Regions from separate parts of the Homo sapiens genome. Here region 2 is linked to region 1. The links are contacts of gene promoters, found by promoter capture Hi-C in blood cells and fetal thymus (Javierre and others, 2016). All regions are on one chromosome and are shown on one strand. Each heading gives the region's core, a stretch centred on a gene start or on the middle of the fragment in contact. The rest is flanking DNA. Distances are from core to core; before and after follow the strand shown.

Region 1 (4,099 bases), core at 1,542-4,041:
GTATTTAACACACTGAATACTTGCCTACTTTTTGTTTTATTTTCCACCAAACTATAAGGGTCAGAAAGGTTCTACAGTCTTTTCAGTGTGCTCAATCAACCTTCCTCAAGCTACTTCTGAAAAATGGAGGGCAAAGTTTAACCCTTCAACAACAGCATATTTTTTAGAAAAGAACTATTCAAAGCAAGTAGACATTTTTTACAATTATTACCTCTTTTTACTTAGAGATAGTACAACCTTGAAAATAAAGAAAGTAGAAGGTGTCATCTGTTGTCTTTATTTTGTCAATGAGGAAACTGAAATGTAGGAAGACTGAATGACATGTCCAAGAGCACCTAAGTGAGCAGCAGATAAATTTCAGGTTTGTACTGGAGAACTCACCGTAAATGTGGGATTGCTGTTCAAACACTGTTATTTGGTTAGTTTTAGACCAAGTTTGTCAGCCTGGGGTCAGGATATAATTTGTAGGACCCAGTTCAAAATGAAGATCCAGAGCCTCTTTGAAAATTATTAAGCCAGCAGACGGTGATAGCAGAACATTACCAAACGCAGGGCCCTTCCAAGTGCAAGGCCCTGTGCGGTTGCAGTTTTGTATTTCCATGAAGCTGGCCCTGCCTGGAGCCTCTGGACATCTAGAATGTAGGAGGCTGGGCATCAAGGAGGCCATGAACTCCTGAAATTGTAGGTGGAATTTTGTGTTAATATGTATGCATTTGTCTTTCATATTCCATAGCTTTCATCAGATTCTCAAATTGGTCTGTTACCCTCTTCAAAGGTAATACATGTTCCAACAGAGCCTACAATGTCAGAATATATTGGTAGGGACAAGCATGCTGGTGGTCACTGTGCATGATCCTTCACAAGGCTATATTTGTGAATAAGTAAGTTTTCATGAGTGCATGGGAATTAATGCAAAATCAAGGAATTCTTAACACTGATGAGACGTTGCCAGAAACAAATGCACTCAAGAATGCTTCTTCCTCAGGAGATAGGAAAGCAGATGGTGAGATGGTCAAGATGATCATATGCTTTATAAACCCCAAAGTGATACCCTAATATAAGCCATTTTATTTATTTTCAACCTCTCCCTCTTCCTCTGTAACTGGATGTCACATTTTAGCTTCCTTTAAGGAAAGCATATTTTCATTTACTTTAATTTCTCTAATAGCTGTATGATTTACCAACTCATGGTGATTTACATCTCTTTTATAGATAATTATAGCCCAATGTTAGAAATAGGAGTAAGTGAGGAATTTGTTAATACAGCAGGGGCAGAAGCAGCCCTCAGAATTAGGAAAAGAGTACTGTAAAGACGTGGATCCTGAGAAATACTACCGATGAAATATTGACACACGCGTCGGCCTGGTAAAAACCTCATGCCCATCTCCTAGAAGTCTCACACACAAATATCCCTTCTGCGGAAATGCCTGCTCTTGCAGTTTAGGTGGCTGCCTTAAGTTTTTATTTAGTCCCTTGCCCCCCTTTCTAAATTTTGGACTAACTACACCTGTCAGTCAAATCTCCAGCTCTTATAAATGGGAATATACAGAGATGGGTAATTGAAACCACGGGGTAATTCTCAAATTTCCATTTGCCCAGTGTCAAATTTCTCTCAACCTAGCAAACAGAAAAGCACGATCTACCTGAATTCCCTGGTCACTTTTCTGACCCTACTCTGTCCTTGCTCATCACATAATGGGGGCACTTTACGTGATTCAACGAGTGGCCAAACTCTTGCAGATCCAGCGATAACCTTGGTTGCTCACACCACATAACTCAACCGTGGAAGAAATGGTGCCACCGCTGGCAGGTGAGACGCCTTCCTCTGGTTTGTAGGATACGATTGGGCATGAATTGTTTTAATAGACTGAGACTGCCCCGCGGGTAATTCTACTTGCTAGGAGTGTTGAGCAGCCTTCCTGCAAGCCATCTACTCCAGTTGGGAGTCTGCTGGCACCTGCTCCCCTGCACACCCCCAGGATGCCCAGGCCGCAGGAAGATGTCTAAAACTTCCTACAGGGGCAAAGCCCGCCCTGGCCTCACCAGTCGCCCCAGCGCGCGTCAGCCACGACCCCGGCGAGGCCCAGGTGGGAGGGTAGGGACGTGCGCAGCCTGGGGTGGGGCTGGGGGCTGGCGAGGACCTGCTCCGGGGACCAGGACTGGGCGCCCTGGCGGTCCCAGGCACCGGGAGGGGACCTAGGACCGCTGCCGTTTCACACGTGGCCCCGGCATTTTCGCGCTCTCTCCAGGAATAGCCCCAAGGGCCCAGGAGGCCTGGGTGGGACTCGGCCCCGCGCCTCTCTTCCCGGGTCCCCAGTCCCCAAGGCGCGGCCCCCCACATTAACCTTGCTGGGTCCTTCCCGGCTTTCTGCCCTTTGCAACCCCCGCGCGCCCCACCTTGGCGGGCTCCGCCGACGCCAACCGCGCGTAAACGGCCGGTGACGATTGGGGTGCAGCCGGGGGCAGCTTCAGGGGGCAGAGCCTCCGCAAATGCTTCTCTCCTCCCACCCGGCCTCACACCCACCCTCCTCGAGGTCCCGCCGGGAACCGCCCCGCCCTGCGAACCCAGCCGAGCCCTCCCTCCTGGGCCACCCCCAGTCCGGTCTCTGCTTTTGGAGCGCGTGGGCTCTGCGAGCGCCAGGGCTGGGGACCCTGGAATACCTGTTCCTCCAGCACGAGGATGGGGTCCAACTAGTGGTCCTCTAAATCCTGCTCCTTCCCCGAGGCTACGGGAAGCGCTCCAGCCACAAGGAAACGGCTCCAGTCTTTCGGCTCCCAAACGTGACACTCTATATATCCGGCTCGGAGACTGGGTGTGGGGCGGGAGGAAACCACCCTCCCTCCGACCTTCCCCGGCTCCGCCGCTGCCTCGGCACTGGGCGCGAAACCGGCGGCAGCCTCAGCCCGGGGCGGGAGGAGGGTGAGGGGCCAGCGAAGGCCCTACAGGTCGCGGGGGCGACAGCATCGTGGGCAGGGCGGCCGCGCGCGCAGGCCCGCCCCGCGCTTCCATTCGTTCAGCACCAGCGGATCCACTGGCTATGACTCCCGCATTTGTGTGGTTTGGGGGAGGGGAGTTGGTTTTGGTTTCGGTGGGTTTGGTTTGTTTGTTTGTTTGGGGCTTTTGTTTTGTTTTGTTTTGGGTTTTGGGGTTGGTTTTTTTCTCCATTTTTTAATCAGTGGGCGAGGGGACAAGGAAGCTAGAAAGGCGCCCCTCTCTGGTGTGGGAAAGGAGAACTCCCACACCGTGAAAGGTGGCGGGGTAGGGGGGTGGAGGGAGAGACCGAGACAGGAGAGAGATTCAAAGGTTCTAGTCTGAACTGAACGCTTGGGGGACATACCTTTCCCCACCCACCCTAGCAGAAAAGGCAGCCAAAAATCCCAGTTTACTCAGCTTGACTACACTGCACATCCCGTGGGAGGGATGCTCTTGTATCTGCTAAAGACATTGCGGAGGCGCCCTGCAGTGACCCACGAACGCAGTGGCTTTTTAAAACCCAAGGGCGTGAGGGTGGAGGGTGATGCGAGGACTTCAGGTGAGGCTTCCTCACACTCGGGGTTTGAAGGGCAGAAATCCGGCTCTGCCTGCCTATGGTGGGGTGGGGGTGGGTAGGAGACTAGAAAGGATCAGAGATGGGGGCCGCAGAAACAGCAGTGAGCCAGCTGTGCTCAGCAGCACTTCTCCGGACTTAAAAGAAAAAAAGATGTTTCATTTCTTAGCCTGGTAGCTTTTTTGGGATTTGGTCATTGTTAAATTTTAAACGGAAAAACAAGCTGCCAGGGAAGCCTTGTAGAGGGATGGACAGGCACGTGAGTGGAGCCCTTGGCCTCAACCAGGAAGTGCTGAAAAACGGCCAACGCCCATCCTAATTCCCTGGACAATGTAGGAGGTAAATTTCCAAATAAATATGGTGTGTTAAGAAAAATAGAAAAGAAATATTGTCCTATAAGCTGTTCTGATTCTCCTCATTATAACAATCCACATGCAATTAAAGAAATAAAATTTGACTTTTGAAAGTTAGAATTAAGGAGTGATTTCATGAAATTAAAATAATAACACCCATCTTGAATTCTCTACTACTGGGCTCTTTAATGAAATGTG
Region 2 (4,378 bases), core at 1,274-3,773, 280 kb before region 1:
ATATAAAAATATATAGTATATTAAGTTACTGTATTAGTCCATTTTCATACTGCTATGAAGAAATACCTGAGACTGGGTAATTTATAAAGAAAAAGAGGGTTAATGGACTCACAGTTCCACACAGCTTGAGAGGCCTCATAATCATGGCGGAAGGTGAAAGAGGAGTAAAGGCACGTCTTATGTGGCAGCAGGCAAGAGAGCGTGTGCTGGGGAACTGCCTTTTATAAAACCATCAGATCTTGTGAGACTTATTCATAATCACGAGAACAACATGGGAAAAGCCCACCCCCATGATTCAATTACCTCCTACCGGGTCCCTCCCCAGACACATGAGGATTATGGAAGCTACAATTCAAGGTGAGATTTGGGTGTGGACACAGCAAAACCATATCAGTTATAAAGAAAAAAATACAGTGTGCAACAAAAATATATAACAGAGGAAGCTTGTTTACTTCGATGGAGGACAGGGAAGGGAATCAAGGAAAACTTGGATTTCTCTTTTTTTTAGCAAGACTCCATGGAAGTTATTTATACTCACTGTCTCCCCTTTTGCCCTCTCGTTTTTCTTGAATTTATCCTCATATGGCTTTATTTTTTTCCTACCATTTCATGGACACTGTTCTTGCTGAAGCTATCAATGACTTCCACAAGTCCAGATTTGGTAGTCCCTTCTCAGTCATGACACAGACGAGCTCTCCCTCCTCAAATCTCACTTGTTTTGGTCTCCAAAAAAGGAGAGCTCACTGGTCTCCTTCAGAGTCTTGGCTGGTTTTTCCTCATTTTCTCTATCACTGTCAGTTGAGGTATCCCAGGACCCAGTCTTTGACTCTCTTCCTTTCTTTACCTATACTCCTTCCTTAGTGATCTCACCCATTCTCTAGCTTTAAATACCATCTATACAGTGATAACTTCCAAATTTATATATCCAGTCCCAGCTTCTTTATTGAACACTAGCACTGTATATCCAAGTGTCTCCCCTTCCACTTGGCTATCTAATAAGAATCTCAAACTTAACATGACCAAAATTGAACCCTTGATTTCCTACCCCTGCCTCCAAGCTCTTCCTCCACCAATCTTTCCCACCTTAGTAGATAGCAACTCCATTTTGCTAATTAATTACTCAGGCCATTAAACTTGGTCCACCTTGATTTCTCACATTCCACATCAAGTATAGCTCATCAGTAGGTCTTTCAGTAAAATAGAGCTAGAATGCTACTACTTCTGAACAATTCCACCATAATATTTTGGTACAGCCTTCCTTTAGCCAGTTTTATGTGTAATAGCCAAAGTGATCATTTTAAAATGAGTAATTGAGATCATGTTTATAATCCAATGTTTTCCTAACTCATTCATAGTAAAAGTCCTTATAGTGCCTACAAGATGCTATAGGATCTGGCTCTTGACTATCCCTTTGATGTCTTCCCCTGCTACTTTTCCCAGTGCTCACTTCATACCCAGCCATGCCAACCTTGCTGCTGTTCCTCAGCAAGCATGCCCTCTGCTATATCCCTGAAACCTATAACTATGCGTGGTAAATAGTACTCAAGAATTGTTTATTTGAATAAAGGTAATGACATTTCAGCTAAGGCAGAGTAGGAGTGGAAAATAAGGAGGTAGCTCCTTAGCTGATGAATGGGTTAACAAACGTGTCTATTTTGCTTAGGCGAATCCTCCTGCCTGAGAGCTAATGTATGAGTAGGGGTTAACTCAGGTAAGAGACTCTTATTACATATATTCATTCTGTTTTTCAGATAAACATAGAAAACCTTTAATGTAGACATGTTTTTCGTGACAGAAGAATTATAATAGATTTATATACCCCATGTGTGAGGTTTATTCAAGATCTGACTCATTTTGTGTTCTTAAGATTGCAGATAAAACACGCTATGAGAAATTATGATATGTCTATGTGAATAAGAAATATAGAGCCATTATAATTTATATGAGGTAGTTAGTAGCATGGAAAAATGGTCACAATAAATTAAATAGGGGGAAAATGTTGTAATGGTATAAAATGGAATACAATTTTTTAAACATATACAGCATAGAAAGACTTTGCAAGATTTACATTAAAACATGAATATTGGTTGCTTAAAGGAGGGACTATAGGAGGATTTTTTTTTTGAGACAGGGTCTTGCTCTGTTCAGGCTGCAGTGCAGTGGTGTGATCATGGTTCACCGCAGCTTCAACCTCCCAGGCTCAAGTGAACCTCCCACCTCAGCCTCCCAAGTAGCTGGGATCACAAGTACACACCACCATACCTGGCTAGCACTTTTGTTTTTTTTGGTAGAGACGAGGTCTTGCTGTTACCCAGGTTGGTCTCAACCTCCTGGGCTCAAGCAATCTTCCTGCCATGGACTCCCAAAGTGCTGGAATTACAGGCGTGAACCACCATACCCAACACAACTTTTTATCTCCTCCTTTGGACTCTATTTTTGAAACTTTCTATAATGAGCATATATGCATTGCTTTTATAATCAGAATAAAGAAATATGTTATAAAAGTTTAATTGGGTGTATTGACCCTGAATGTTCTTATTCTATATTCCATGAGAGGAAAAATTAAATACAATCATAGCCTTGGGAGATTGCTTGGTGCCTTAGCAAACCGTTTCTGCCTGGACTCACAGGGGTACTCTGGGAGGGCAGCTAGAGGTACTGGGAAAAGGCCACATGGAGAAGGAACTCTCCAACTGAACTTTGTAACAATTTGAACTGATCAAGAAGCCTCCTGGCCAGAACTCAAGGGAGGGTGTTAATCTGGTGTGCAGACTCCACAGGCAGGAATAGAAGGAAAGCCATACTTGATTTCGCAGCTGGGAGGTGGGTAGCCTGGGACAAATTCTCCAGCTCTGCTCACCCACTGCCTGGAAACAGACTCAGTGCTTTTGGAGAGGGCATGGTGGAAGTGAGACAAGCCCTTTGGATTGTGTGGAGCTGGGTGAGGTCTGTGACTGTCAGCTCTCCCCCAGTTTCCCTGAAAACCTGCATGACACAGCAGAGACAGTCATAATCCTCCTAGGAATGTAACTCCATTGACCTGGGAACCTCACCCCAATCTCCCACAGCAGCTGTAGCAAGACCTGGCCAAGGAGAGTCTGAGCTCAGACACACTTAGCCCTGCCCCCACCTAATGGTCCTTCCCTACCCACCTTGGTCACTGCAGAGGGCATATACTCTTGGGAGTTCTAGGGGCCCGCCTATCACCTGTTCCTCCCCATTCGACCACAGCTGGTGCTCTCTGGAAAATGCCACCTCCTGGCAGGGGGCCAACCAGCACAAAAATAGTGCTAATGCTATTTCATAAATGATATTGAAGTTATGTTTTATGCAGTTATGGGGGAAGTGAAATATTACTATGGCATTTGCAAATTTAGAGAAGTCCTAAAGATCTTAGGTCACATCTCTTGAATATCAAGTGTCAATTCACACACCTCTAGACTGAAGATAATAATACCTGTATCTTATGATTGTGAAACCTAAATAAGATCATGTATGAAATAGGAGTGACAAAAATAAATTGAAATGTAGACGTGGTGTGACTTAATGGATTTACAGTTTGTGATTTAAGGTCAAATAATTCAGGCTGTTTGCTTTTGAAGTGGGGGTCCGTTTTTCCAAACAGAAGTCATTTAAACATAAGTAAGGATCTGTGGATACCAAGAAGCAATGATAGGAATTAATAAAGTATGCTACAGTTTAGGTTTTAATGACCTACTTGTAGACATTCCAATTAGATTCAAGTAACTTCTCTTTTTGATTATTGTATATTTTTTCTCTTTGTCTCAAGGATGTCCAGTATTGGATTTGATTCCAGTGACTTCTGTTGAGATCACATCTCTTGATTATCCTAACAGTTAACTCAACATGCTGAATTACACTTGGACTTTTTATTCCACAACAGTAAATAAAATGAAGGCCATGATTAAAGACTTTATAACAGAAGAATCTTTGAACTGTGATTGGGATTATATAATATTTATGATAGACCATATCAGCAATCAATTCTACTTTGTAAATTTATCTTTCTTAAATGGCCTACACTAACTGGCACCAAGTATTTATATAATGAATATACATGTAAAACATGACCTACATTGGCCTTGGGAACAATAGCATTTGTTGTCAGTGATTTCTCATCAGATCCTTCATTAGAATCCTATAGCATTATTGAGCACAGTTGGATGAGTATGAGATCACACTCACTGGATCTTTATTCCTTCCCAATCCTGGCTTGTCTTGACTTTTTAGTACAAAAATTCCTATCTCATTTAACCATTAGTTGGCACTCTTGGTTTTGTCCAGATGCCATATGTTTTAAAGGATTTTATTTCCTAAATGGCATTTTTAGATGGTAACTTTTTTGAAAATGTATTTA

The links. The method cuts DNA at HindIII sites, captures the fragments that hold promoters and counts their contacts. A CHiCAGO score of 5 or more calls a contact.
Region 2: a contact is called between a fragment that was not itself captured here and the fragment with the promoter of FAR2 in region 1, in 2 of 17 cell types (monocytes and neutrophils). The highest score is 6.3, in monocytes.

What each region holds. Positions count from the first base shown.
Region 1 is chr12:29,147,970-29,152,068 of GRCh38, reverse strand. FAR2 (fatty acyl-CoA reductase 2) reads right to left here and starts at 2,791. Exons shown (of 12, transcript NM_001271783.2): 1 at 2,662-2,791. RefSeq lists silencers at 2,424-2,573, 2,884-2,943. The HindIII fragment of the contact is 9,301 bases long and covers 1-4,099 here.
Region 2 is chr12:29,429,181-29,433,558 of GRCh38, reverse strand. All of the region lies in intron 1 of OVCH1-AS1 (OVCH1 antisense RNA 1), which reads right to left. It also overlaps a transcript of OVCH1 not described here. Among named protein-coding and RNA genes, the nearest start is that of OVCH1-AS1, 42 kb to the right of the region's middle. The HindIII fragment of the contact is 4,156 bases long and covers 446-4,378 here.